Linked DNA regions of Homo sapiens: regions 2, 3 and 4 are each linked to region 1. Evidence: promoter capture Hi-C in 16 types of primary human blood cells and fetal thymus (Javierre and others, 2016). All regions are on one chromosome and are shown on one strand. The core of a region is centred on a gene start or on the middle of the fragment in contact, and the rest is flanking DNA. Distances in the headings are between cores, read along the strand shown. Region 1 holds the start of ECEL1 (endothelin converting enzyme like 1). Region 2 has its middle 25 kb from the start of MIR1471. Region 3 has its middle 2.1 kb from the start of MIR1471. Region 4 has its middle 15 kb from the start of NPPC.

The links. Contacts are between HindIII fragments. The CHiCAGO score rates a contact against its expected background, and 5 or more counts as called.
Region 2: a contact is called between a fragment that was not itself captured here and the fragment with the promoter of ECEL1 in region 1, in 3 of 17 cell types (endothelial precursors, naive CD8 T cells and M2 macrophages). The highest score is 7.0, in endothelial precursors.
Region 3: a contact is called between a fragment that was not itself captured here and the fragment with the promoter of ECEL1 in region 1, in 16 of 17 cell types (endothelial precursors, M0 macrophages, M1 macrophages and 13 more). The highest score is 18.0, in endothelial precursors.
Region 4: a fragment that was not itself captured here is called in contact with the fragment with the promoter of ECEL1 in region 1 in 2 of 17 cell types (M1 macrophages and M0 macrophages); the score reaches 7.1 in M1 macrophages.

The regions. Positions count from the first base shown.
Region 1 is chr2:232,486,548-232,489,099 of GRCh38, forward strand. It overlaps ECEL1 (endothelin converting enzyme like 1), which reads right to left and starts at 1,287. Exons shown (of 18, transcript NM_004826.4): 1 at 1,172-1,287; 2 at 1-207. The coding sequence starts at 106. LOC124906124 (a long non-coding RNA gene) reads left to right here and starts at 1,396. Exons shown (of 3, transcript XR_007088123.1): 1 at 1,396-2,412. The HindIII fragment of the contact is 9,213 bases long and covers 1-2,552 here.
Region 2 is chr2:231,866,022-231,868,573 of GRCh38, forward strand. No RefSeq gene overlaps it. Among named protein-coding and RNA genes, the nearest start is that of MIR1471, 25 kb to the right of the region's middle. The HindIII fragment of the contact is 2,901 bases long and covers 1-2,552 here.
Region 3 is chr2:231,893,091-231,895,642 of GRCh38, forward strand. No RefSeq gene overlaps it. Among named protein-coding and RNA genes, the nearest start is that of MIR1471, 2.1 kb to the left of the region's middle. The HindIII fragment of the contact is 3,788 bases long and covers 1-2,552 here.
Region 4 is chr2:231,909,916-231,912,467 of GRCh38, forward strand. No RefSeq gene overlaps it. Among named protein-coding and RNA genes, the nearest start is that of NPPC, 15 kb to the right of the region's middle. The HindIII fragment of the contact is 6,149 bases long and covers 1-2,552 here.

The sequences.
Region 1 (2,552 bases), core at 37-2,536:
CCGGGGGCAGGGAGGCCCCGCGCGCGCCCCCCGCGCCGCAGCGGCTCACGTACTTGACCTCTTGGAACTCATCGTAGTGCGCCGTCAGCGAATACGGGGGCTCCATGGCGCCGAGGCCGCCGCGGTGCAGACCTGGGCCACCTGGGCTACGGGATGCGCGTGGCCGCCGGCCTCCTCGTGGGCCTCCGCATGGCCCTGGGGCCGCAGCTGCGGGAAGGGCGGAAGCAGGCTCAGGAGGCGCCGCAGCCGGATGGGGCTCAGGGTCACCGCGAGGAGGGACACAGGCCTGGGTGCAGAGGCCCCAGCCGCGGGCCTCATTCACTGCGGAAACCAGGGACTATGAGGGTTCGGCGGGGCCACCACCCCCGGGTGCACAGTGGAGTCTTCCCCCCTGTCCCCTCCCTGCACACACTTGAGGGCCGCAGGGTTGGGAGGGCTCTTATTGGAAGCAAGAGGCGCCAGGCAAGGGGCCTGGCACGTAGTGGGCCTTCATTGAAAGGTCGTCCCTCTTCCCCTTCGCCTTTCTCTTCCACGACCTGCCCCAGCCAAGGCCGGGTGGAGTGGGGGAAGAAGCGGAGGCTGGAGTGAGGAGGTGCGGTCAGGGGCGCGTCTATGCGACACTTTCAGCTCTCCGCGCTGGACCCAGACAGACGCTCCGCAAAGCGGCCAAAGAACCAAACTTTGTCCTCGCGGAAGTCCGCGGGATCGACCACGCCAACCCCGCTCCCTGGCTCCTTCTGCTCGGTGGCCCGACGGCCCACTCGCCCCTTCCCTAGGGGCGCGCGCCAACGCCCCAGGGTGGCGGACACACAACCCACCCACTGGACGGCCCTGATGGAGAACCCGAGACGGGTTCCCTCCCCCCACTCCCACCATCTCTGTCCCCGCCCCGAGCCACTCCTGGCTTCAACAGGTTCTCCCCAGAACCCAAACTTGGGCGAAGTTTCACCCCCGGCGGGGAGCGAGCTGGCTGGCGACCCCCGAGCCCCGGCGCCGTGCGGCGCAGTCCGCGGAGCCCGAGAGCCGAGCCCGGGAGCCGCAGCCGCAGCCGCAGCCGGAGCCGCAGCCGAGAGGACGCAGACAAAGCCGGGAGGCTCCGCGCAGTGGCGGCGGCGGCGACGGAAGTGGCCGCGGTGGTGGCCTCAGCGGCAGGGACTCGGGCGCCACTTACCCGGCAGGTGCGCGCCCGAGCCGGCGGTGACCGAGCGGGTCGGGCCCGAGCGGGGGCCTGAGCCGCAGCGCAGCCGAGCGGGCGTCCGGTGTCTCCCAGCGCCCGCCGCCTCCTCTGCCGCCGCGCCGAGCCCGCCGCGCCGCCCGCCTGCCGGCCCGAGGGAGGGGGCGCGCCGGCGGCTCCACCCTCCTCCGCCCGCCCCGCGCGCCCCTCCTTCCTCCTGCATCTCTCGGGCCACCTGGCAGTGGGGCGGCAGCGCGGACGTGGGTCGGCGGCCGCGGAGACAGGCTCCCGGGGGTCGTGCGCGGGCTGCGGTCGGGGACTCCGGGTCCAGCCGCGTTCCGAGACGAGTGAGGGCAGCGAGTACTCCCGTGAAGGGTCCCCTCCGATCCAGTGTCCCCACTCCCAGCCGCCCACCAGCCGGCTGGAAAGGGGCTGGAGCTGGAGATGAGGAGCCGAGGACTCCTCCGAAGGGCTGGGGGCGGTGTCAGTAGTGCCTGTGTCTGCCGGCACAGTCCCTGGCGCAGAGCGCACCTTCACTAACCGGCTTTTTTGTCCTCCTTGGAACCCCTGCCCTGGATGGGCTCTCCACTAGGGCTTCTGGTTGGCCTCGCTCCCTTCACCTAGCCCCTGGTGAAGGGAGCTCAGCGGGGACTCCTGCAAGAAGAGGGCTTGCCGCCCCCTTCCCCATCCTCCCCAGCCTTGGGTGGCCCTGGCACCACGGCTCAGGGAGTCCCTGGCCCAGGTAGGAAGAAAAGGCCAAGAGAAGAATGAGCGAAGTCTCCCTGCTGGAGCCAGGGAAGGCTGGAGCCTGCCCCCTCTGGCCAGCAGCCCTAGGCCTCAGACAGGCCCTGAGCCTCAAGACCCTGGTATGTGGACTGATGGGAGGGCAGGCTGGGTGCAGGGACTCTGAATTTACTCACCGCCTGCCTTCTTCCAGGTAAACTGGCTTTTTAAATGTGGGGCCTCCCCACTGCCTGGAGGCAAAGCCCTCTTCTACCTGCCTGCCTGCCTTGGCCAGACAGCCTGGCCCTAATGGGACACAGAGAACTTGGGGCTCCTTGGAAGACTGATACTGTTTCTGGAGTCTCTGCTTTCTCTGCCCTACCCTGCCTCTGGTGTCTCTAGCAGGAGACCCCACAAAGCACCAGCCCTCCCAGGTCTGCCGGCTCCAGCCCGTAGGATTGGCTTAAACAATGTGTGAGAGCCATGGAGCACCATCTAATAAAAATCACAACAAGGTAGGGACTCTGATAACCTACCCATCATCCTGTTCTCCTCCTCAGGGTCTGTGCATCTGCCCAGCTCCTGAGCCCTGGCCCTGAGTGCCGGCCTCTGCCCCTGTCTTGCCTCTCCCTGCCTCTTCATCTCTCCATCTCTA
Region 2 (2,552 bases), core at 29-2,528, 620 kb before region 1:
TATGCAAGTGATTTCATTTATAGCAAGAAAAAATAAAATGCTGAGACCAGCCTGGCCAACATGGTGAAACCCTGTCTCTACTAAAAATACAAAAATTAGCTGGGAGTGGTCGTCGGTGCCTGTAATCCCAGCTACTCGGGAGGCTGAGGCAGGAGAATCGCTTGAACCTGGGAGACAAAGGTTGCAGTGAGCCAAGATCGTGTCACTGCACTCCAGCCTGGGTGACAGAGTGAGACTCCATCTCAAAAAAATAAAAAAATAAAAAATAAAAAGCCTAGGAATAAATTTAAAAACAGAAGTGTAAAATGTATGCTCTTAAAACTACAAAATATTGTGGACATTTAAAAGATTTAAATAAATGGAAAGACACCTTATGTTGATAGATCAAAATACCTAAATATTGTTAAAACGGAAAGACTCCCCAAACTGATCTACAGATTCAGTGCAATCTCCGTCAGAATTCTGCCTGGGTTCTTTGCAGAAATGGACAAGCTGCCCCTAAAATGCATGTGGAAACTCAAGGTCTCCAGAGTTACCAATAGCAATCAAACAAGCAAACAGCCAAAACAATCCTGAAAAAGAAGACAGTTGGAGGACTCACACTTCCTGATTTCAAAACTTACTAAAAAGCAACAGTAAGCAAAATTGCGGTAGTGGCATAAGGTTGGACATAAAGATCAGTGGAATAGAACAGAAGATCCCAGAAATCAACCCTCACATTGACAGTTCATTGATTTTTGATAAGGGTTCCAAAACAGTGAGGGAAAGAATTGTTTTTTTTTTTTCAACAGATGGCTCTGGGACAACTGGATATCTACATGCAAAATATAATCATAATAATAAAGTTGTATACCTACCTCATACGTCTACAAAAATTAGCTCAAAGAGCTAACTGTAAGAGCTATCATAGACTGAAATGTAAGCTAAAACAAATTTTTTTTTTTTTTTTGAGACGGCATCTCACTCTGTCACCCAGGCTGGAGTGCAATGGTGCCATCTTGACTCACTGCAACCTCTGCCTCCCGGGTTCAAGTGATTCTCCTGCCTCAGCCTCCTGAGTAGCTGGGATTACAGGTGCCCACCACGATGCCCAGCTAATTTTTGTATTTTTAGTAGAGACGGAGTTTCACCATGTTGGCCAGGCCAGTCTCGAACTCCTGACCTAGGTGATCCACCCACCTCGGCCTCCCAAAGTGCTGGGATCACAGGCGTGAACCACCACACCTGGCCTAAAACAAATTCTTAGGAAAAAAAAAACCATAGAGGTAAATCTTTGCCACCTTGGATTTGGGAGTGGCTTCTTAGGTATGATACCAAAAGCACAAGCAACCAAAGAAAAAATAGGTAAATTGGACTTTATCAAATTAAAAGCATTCATGATACCAACAAGAGAGGCAAAGACAACCCACTGATGGGAGAAAATATTTGAAAATTATATATCTGATAAGGGACTGGAATCTAGAATATTAAAGAACTCTTTAAATTCAGTAATAAAAAGACAACCCAATTAAAGAATGGGCAAAGGAGTTGTGAAGTTAGAAGCCGAATTCTGTTTTTGATAAAAAGTTATTCTACATGCTAGATAGCAAAGTAGAAAGGACTGTGTTTATTTTTGCCTTGGAATTGCAATTAAAGATCAGTCAAGGAACAAGATACCCAGAAATGATTAAGAAATTCAAGAATATAATAATGGAAGCGTTCTTTCTGGTTTCATTTTTTTTCCTCCTGATGAGAAAGTGGCCAGAAATTAGGCAAATGACTCTTCAAGATTTTTTCCCCAAGGTTTAATCATTACAGTAGTTATTCTCAAAATGCTGTCTGAGAGCCACCCACGTGACAATCACTTTAGGGGACTTTATTTTTGAAGTCCAGCAGTATTGAATCAGAATTTGAGGAGGCGTTGCCCTAACGTCCGAATTTTTAGCTAGTATCAAACTGATCCATAGATATAATAGATTTTTAAGAACTTCGACCATAAGCAAAAGATTGGATCATTCTGTTTTTCTCTTTTCATTTCGTTATTCTTTTCATTGAGATGAGGTCGCACTCTGTCACCCAAGCTGGAGTGCAGTGGTGCAGACCTCGGCTCACTGCAACCTCTGCCTCCTGAGTTCAAGCGATTCTCCTTCCTCAACCTCCCGAGTTCTCTTTTCATTTCTTTTTGTCATTTTCTTTTCTTTGTTTTCCTCAGCATCTACAATTGTGTCCTTTGGGTGGTGTTGGGCTCTCAATTTCAAGAAATTGCCAAGGCACTGATCCCATAATACATGTGGACAAAATCACTAGAATCTTAATATAGTTCGTTCACCTGATTTTAATTTTATAAAACAGAGAAGATCAAAAAAAAAAAAAAAAAGGAAAATTTACTTCTGAACGATTGAGTATTACAAGTCTCTATTATGCTGTCATGATCTTTTATTTATTCAAATTTTGGCCAGGCGCAGTGGCTCACGCCTGTAATCCCAGCCCTTTGGGAGGTGGAGACCGGTGGATCACTTAAGGTCAGGAGTTCGAGACCAGCCTGGCCAACACGGTGAAACCCCATCTCTACT
Region 3 (2,552 bases), core at 18-2,517, 590 kb before region 1:
TAGTAACCACCTAATAGACTTGTGAGGGTTAAAGGAGATGATTTATGCTAATTACTGGAGTAGTGGCTGGCACATGGTAACTGCTTAGTAAATATTAGCTACTTTTACAGTGAAGTAGAGGATAGAAAGGAGTTGCATTTTTATTGGATAACAACCCTAGACATTTTGTGCATTCCAGAGAAAGGTATGAAAAGGAACTTCCTGGAGCTGCCTGGTCTGGGGCGTGCAAGCATCCCTGCTGGCATCTCTCTATGGGTCTTTGCTTCCCCCAAGCATCATGGCTGAAAGGAATTTTATGAACTGTTGCCTTTCGATCTATTTCCAATCTTATGTGCATGCCCTTTGCTGCAAGACGCTAAAGTGTCTCCCACTAGAGTAGGCAGAGTGTATTTCTCTGCTCCATGGATGTTGGGCTTGGCTATACGACATGCTTTGGCCATTGGAGTGTGGGCAGAGTGACAGTATGTCAGTTCCAAAGAGTGTCAGTGCTGCCACCCACCCCTCTTGCACTTTCTGCTTTCCTCCATGGGAAGAACATACCCCAGGTAGCCACTGGCCTCAGAATGAGAGACACATGAAGAGAACTAAATGCAACCCAGGGCCTGAAGGAGAGCTGCTCTGGCCAGCAGGCACATTTGTGAGTGCGATATAGATGATTGCTGCTCTAAGCCACGGGGATTGTGGAGTTTGTTATCCAGTAGGACTCAGCAGAAACCTGGCTGATACAATGTTTTTAGGCTCAACAGGGTGATCACAGCATGAACAGCAGAGTACATGGCTCCAGACATCCTACAAGCTGCTGTCCGAATAAACTTCTAACATCACGCCTTTCCCCCACTGCCTGTATACTTAAGTCCACTCTCCTTTGCTCTACGGTGAAGGCTCTTCTCACTTGAACTGCAACCAAATTTTCCTCACCTGTCCCCTCCTCCCTTAACAAATTTTCCATCCCAGGAGCAGTGGCTCATGTCTGTAATCCCAACGCTTTGGAAGGCTGAGGTGGGAGGACTCGAGCCCAGGAGTTCGAGACCAATGTGGGCAACATAATGAGACCTTATCTCTACAAATAATAATTAAAAAATTAGCCAGGTGTGGTGGCACATGCCCATAGTCCCAGCTACTCGGGAGGATGAGGCGGGAGGATCACTTGAGCCTGGGAGGTCGAAGCTGCAGTGAGCCGTGATGGCACTACTGCACTCCAGCCTGGATGACAGAGTGAGATCCTGGCTCAAAAAAAAAAAAAAAAAAAAAAAAAAAACAGAAATAAAAAACCTAAAACAAAAACAAATACAAAAATCTTCCATTGCAGCCATTCTTAAACCATATGTAAAGTTCTGCTGCTGACTGTTTTTCTCCACCTAACTCCTAAACTTCATGAAGACAACCAGCCGTCCCATTCATCTCCCGCTTCTCTGAACACAGGTTGTCAGAGAGGAATGGGGCCCACCCATGATTCACTCTCACACCCTCTCTGTCACTCTGGTGCCTTCGCCCTACTCCGCTCCATCCCTCTGGGTTAGAAGTAGGATGTGGTACCTAGCTGCTTCTTACCCAGATCTCTCTGACATGCAGTCCTGGTGCCCTTTGTCACCCCATGTCAGCTCTGGGCACCCTCCCTGGTCCATCCTTGTGTTAACAGGACCCAGGTGACTCCTGGCACAAAGGGGGATGTTGGAAGCTGAGGGAATGTTTCCTTGCAGGGGCAACAGAGGCAGAGAAGAGTCCAGGCAGCCTTGAGGCGTTAACGGAGACTGACCTGGAGGCCAGGCCATGTTTGTTAATGAACCTGAGAAGCTGCTGAAGGAGGCCTGGGAAAGCCCCGACTTGACACCTGTGGCTGCTTCGAGCTCCTGAAGGCCATTCTCCCCTGGCAGGTGGATGTCAAGAAACGAATACATTCAAAGAAGAAGGGGAAAGATATGGTTTGAATCTGTGTCCCTCCCAGATCTCCTGTGGAATTATAATCCTCAGTGTTGGAGGTGGGGCCTGGTGGGAGGTGGTTGGATCATGGGGGTGGATTTCCCTCTTGGTGCTGTTCTCGTGAGAGTGAGTGCATTCTCGCGAGATCTGCTCATTTAAAAGTGGGTGGCACCTCCCTGCTGTCTCTCTCGCTTCTGCTCCGGCCGTGTGAGGTGTTCGCTCTCCCTTCACCTTCTGCCATGATTGTAGGTTTCCTGAGGCCTCCTGGAAGCCGAGCAGATGCCAACCTCATGCTTCCTGTATAGCCTGCAGAACCATGAGCCAATGAAACCTCTTTTCAAGTTATCTGGTCTCAGGTATTTCTTTATAGCAGTGTGAGAACAGACTCATACAGGGAGTGAGGACTTCTCTGATCAAAGGAAAGCAGCCACCTGGTTTTTGTCCAGTGGTTCACTGAAAATATTTTACTGAATAAAACTTTTCCTAACTGGCAAGAATGGTCTAGAAGCAGGTTGCTCAAATAGTGGAAGAAGTCCTCTTGAGGTCAAGGTAGTCACTGATGCCTTGACTTAGAACAGCAAAGCCACTACCGGAAAACCTGAACGCGCAAGATCGCAGTTCACAATTCAGAG
Region 4 (2,552 bases), core at 36-2,535, 580 kb before region 1:
GAAATGGGCTTTGCAGGATCATAAAGGAAGCCTTAAAACTTTGATAATGACAACAACAGAAATTGAGCAGCCATTTCTGTGGCTTTTTTTTTTCTTTGAGACAGAGTCTCCCTCTGTTGCCCAGGCTGGAGTGCAGTGGCGCAATCTCAGCTCACTGCAAGCTCTGCCTCCCGGGTTCAAATGATTCTCCTGCTTCAGCCTCCCTGGTAGCTGGGATTACAGACATGCACCACAATGCACGGCTCATTTTTGTACTTTCAGTAGAGATAGGGTTTCGCCATGTTGGCCAGGCTGGTATCGAACTCCTGATCTCAGGTGATCTGCCTGCCTCAGCCTCCCAAAGTGCTGGGGTTACAGGAGTGAGCCACCACGCCCAGCCCTGAGCAGCCATTTCTGTGGCTTTTGGACGTGAAGATGTGCAGGGAGGAAAGCCTGTGTGGGAAGGAGCGCTTCCTGCGGGGGCGGGGGAGGTCTCTCCTTCTTCATGTGCCTGCCACTCCCTTAGAAGAGACCTCTCTTGGGCAGTGTCTTGGAAGGTAGGGTGGCCAGCATCCATCAAGGGACAGAAGCTAATGTCCCCAGGCCAGCCACATTGGTTTGACTTGCTGATAACAGAATGTGGTCCTCTGTGCCTTCTGCAAAGAGCCCTCCAGCAAACTTCTGCCAGCACCTGGGACATTCCAGGAACTGGGCTAGATGTCGGGAACACCAAAACAAGAAAGGCCCCATTCCTGCCCTTGAGGGAGTTGCAGCCACCTTTGGGGTATAGCAGAGCATCTTGGCTCTGCCCAAATGGGACCGCTTTTATGGACCAGGGAGTTCACGGCTCTTCGTAGGCATTGACAAGCACAAGGACCCGTGTTGCTTGGCTGGTGGAGGTGGAGAGTTTGCGGGGTGTGTTGGGTAGGGAATGAGAACACTGTGAAGACAGAAATAAGCATTTGAAGAGGAAGGAGGGAGTGGCTTGGGGTCATCTGCCACCCTCCGCCTCTGCCCCTCCCCACCCACCTGTATTGACTTCATGCTTGAAGGCCAAGCAGCTGGTGGCAGTAGCCCATGCGGCAGCTCATGTGATACAAAGACCACAGATTCAGCCCAGCAGCACCACTTAGACAGTGTGAGACTCAGAATCCTCCCCCACTGCAGCCCCAGAGCTGGGCACCCCGGGAGCTCAGGAGGACCCAGTGCAGGGCAGCATCCCTGGGGGGAATTGCCAGCATGCAGGGTCCAGGGTCGTCTCTGAGGGCTGTGAGCTGTGGACTATCAACCTGAAGGAAAAGGGAAGAAAGCAAATGGGCTTGTCATGTTCACAGGTGAGGTGTCTCTGGCATTTCCCTGAAGCCATGGAGGTGACTGTGAGGAGGCGGCACAGTCCTCCAGGCTGTTGTGATTTGGGTATCACTGTTCCTGGGACTGAGATTTTGCTTGCAGTTTGGGAAACCCAGGCACTTGGGTGGCAGAGGTGCATGACCTGGTCTCATAGTGACCACAGCTCTCTACCTGTCAGGCTTAGAGTGAGGATACGGGTCATCTCATGCCATCCTTGTAGCAGCCCCCACGAGGTAGTACTATGATTGCTTCCAGTTTACAGAAGCTGAGGTTACACTTGGCCAAGTTCCCCTAGAAAAAGGAGTGGTGCCAGGAATGACCTGGCCACCTGACACCTTGGCGTGGGTCCCCCTCCCCTGTATGCAGCTTAGGGAACATCGCTCCTGGAAAACGTCTAGTCTCACACACAGGGTGGGGCTCTGAGTGCAGGAGTCTTTATTCTAAGAGTCTTTCTTCTATTTTGAAGTAACTTTTTTTTAGTCACAGCTTTATTTTGATATAGTTCACACACCGTACACTTCACCCATTTAAAGCAGTGAATCCAAATTCAATGTTGTTGGGTTTTTTTTTTTTTTTTTGAGACAGAGTCTCACTCTGTCGCCCAGGCTGGAGTGCAGTGGTGCGATCTCTGTTCACTGCAAGCTCTGCCTCCCGGGTTCACGCCATTCTCCTGCCTCAGCCTCCCAAGTAGCTGGGACTACAGGCGCCTGCCACCACGCCCGGCTAATTTTTTGTATTTTTAGTAGAGACGGGGTTTCACCGTGTTAGCCAGGATGGTCTCGATCTCCTGACCTCGTGATCTGCCCACCTCGGCCACCCAAAGTGCTGGGATGACAGGTGTGAACCACCGCGCCGGGCCTTTTTTTTTTTTTTTTTTTTTGAGACACAGTCTCGCTCTGTCACCCAGGCTGGAATGCAATGGTACGATCTTGGCTCACTGCAACCTCCACTTCCCAGGCCCAAGTGATTCTCCTGCCTCAGCCTCCCGAGTAGCTGAGATTACAGGAACCCGCCACCGCACTCGGCTAATTTTTTGTATTTTTGGTAGAAATGGGGTTTCACCATGTTGCCCAGGCTGTTCTTGAACTCCTGGCCTCAAGTGATCCACCCGCTCAGCCTCCCAAAGTGCTGGGATTACAGGCATGAGCCACCATGCCTGGCCTGTGTTTTATATCTTTACAGAGTTGTGCAACCATCACCACGATCAATTTGAGGCTGTTTTC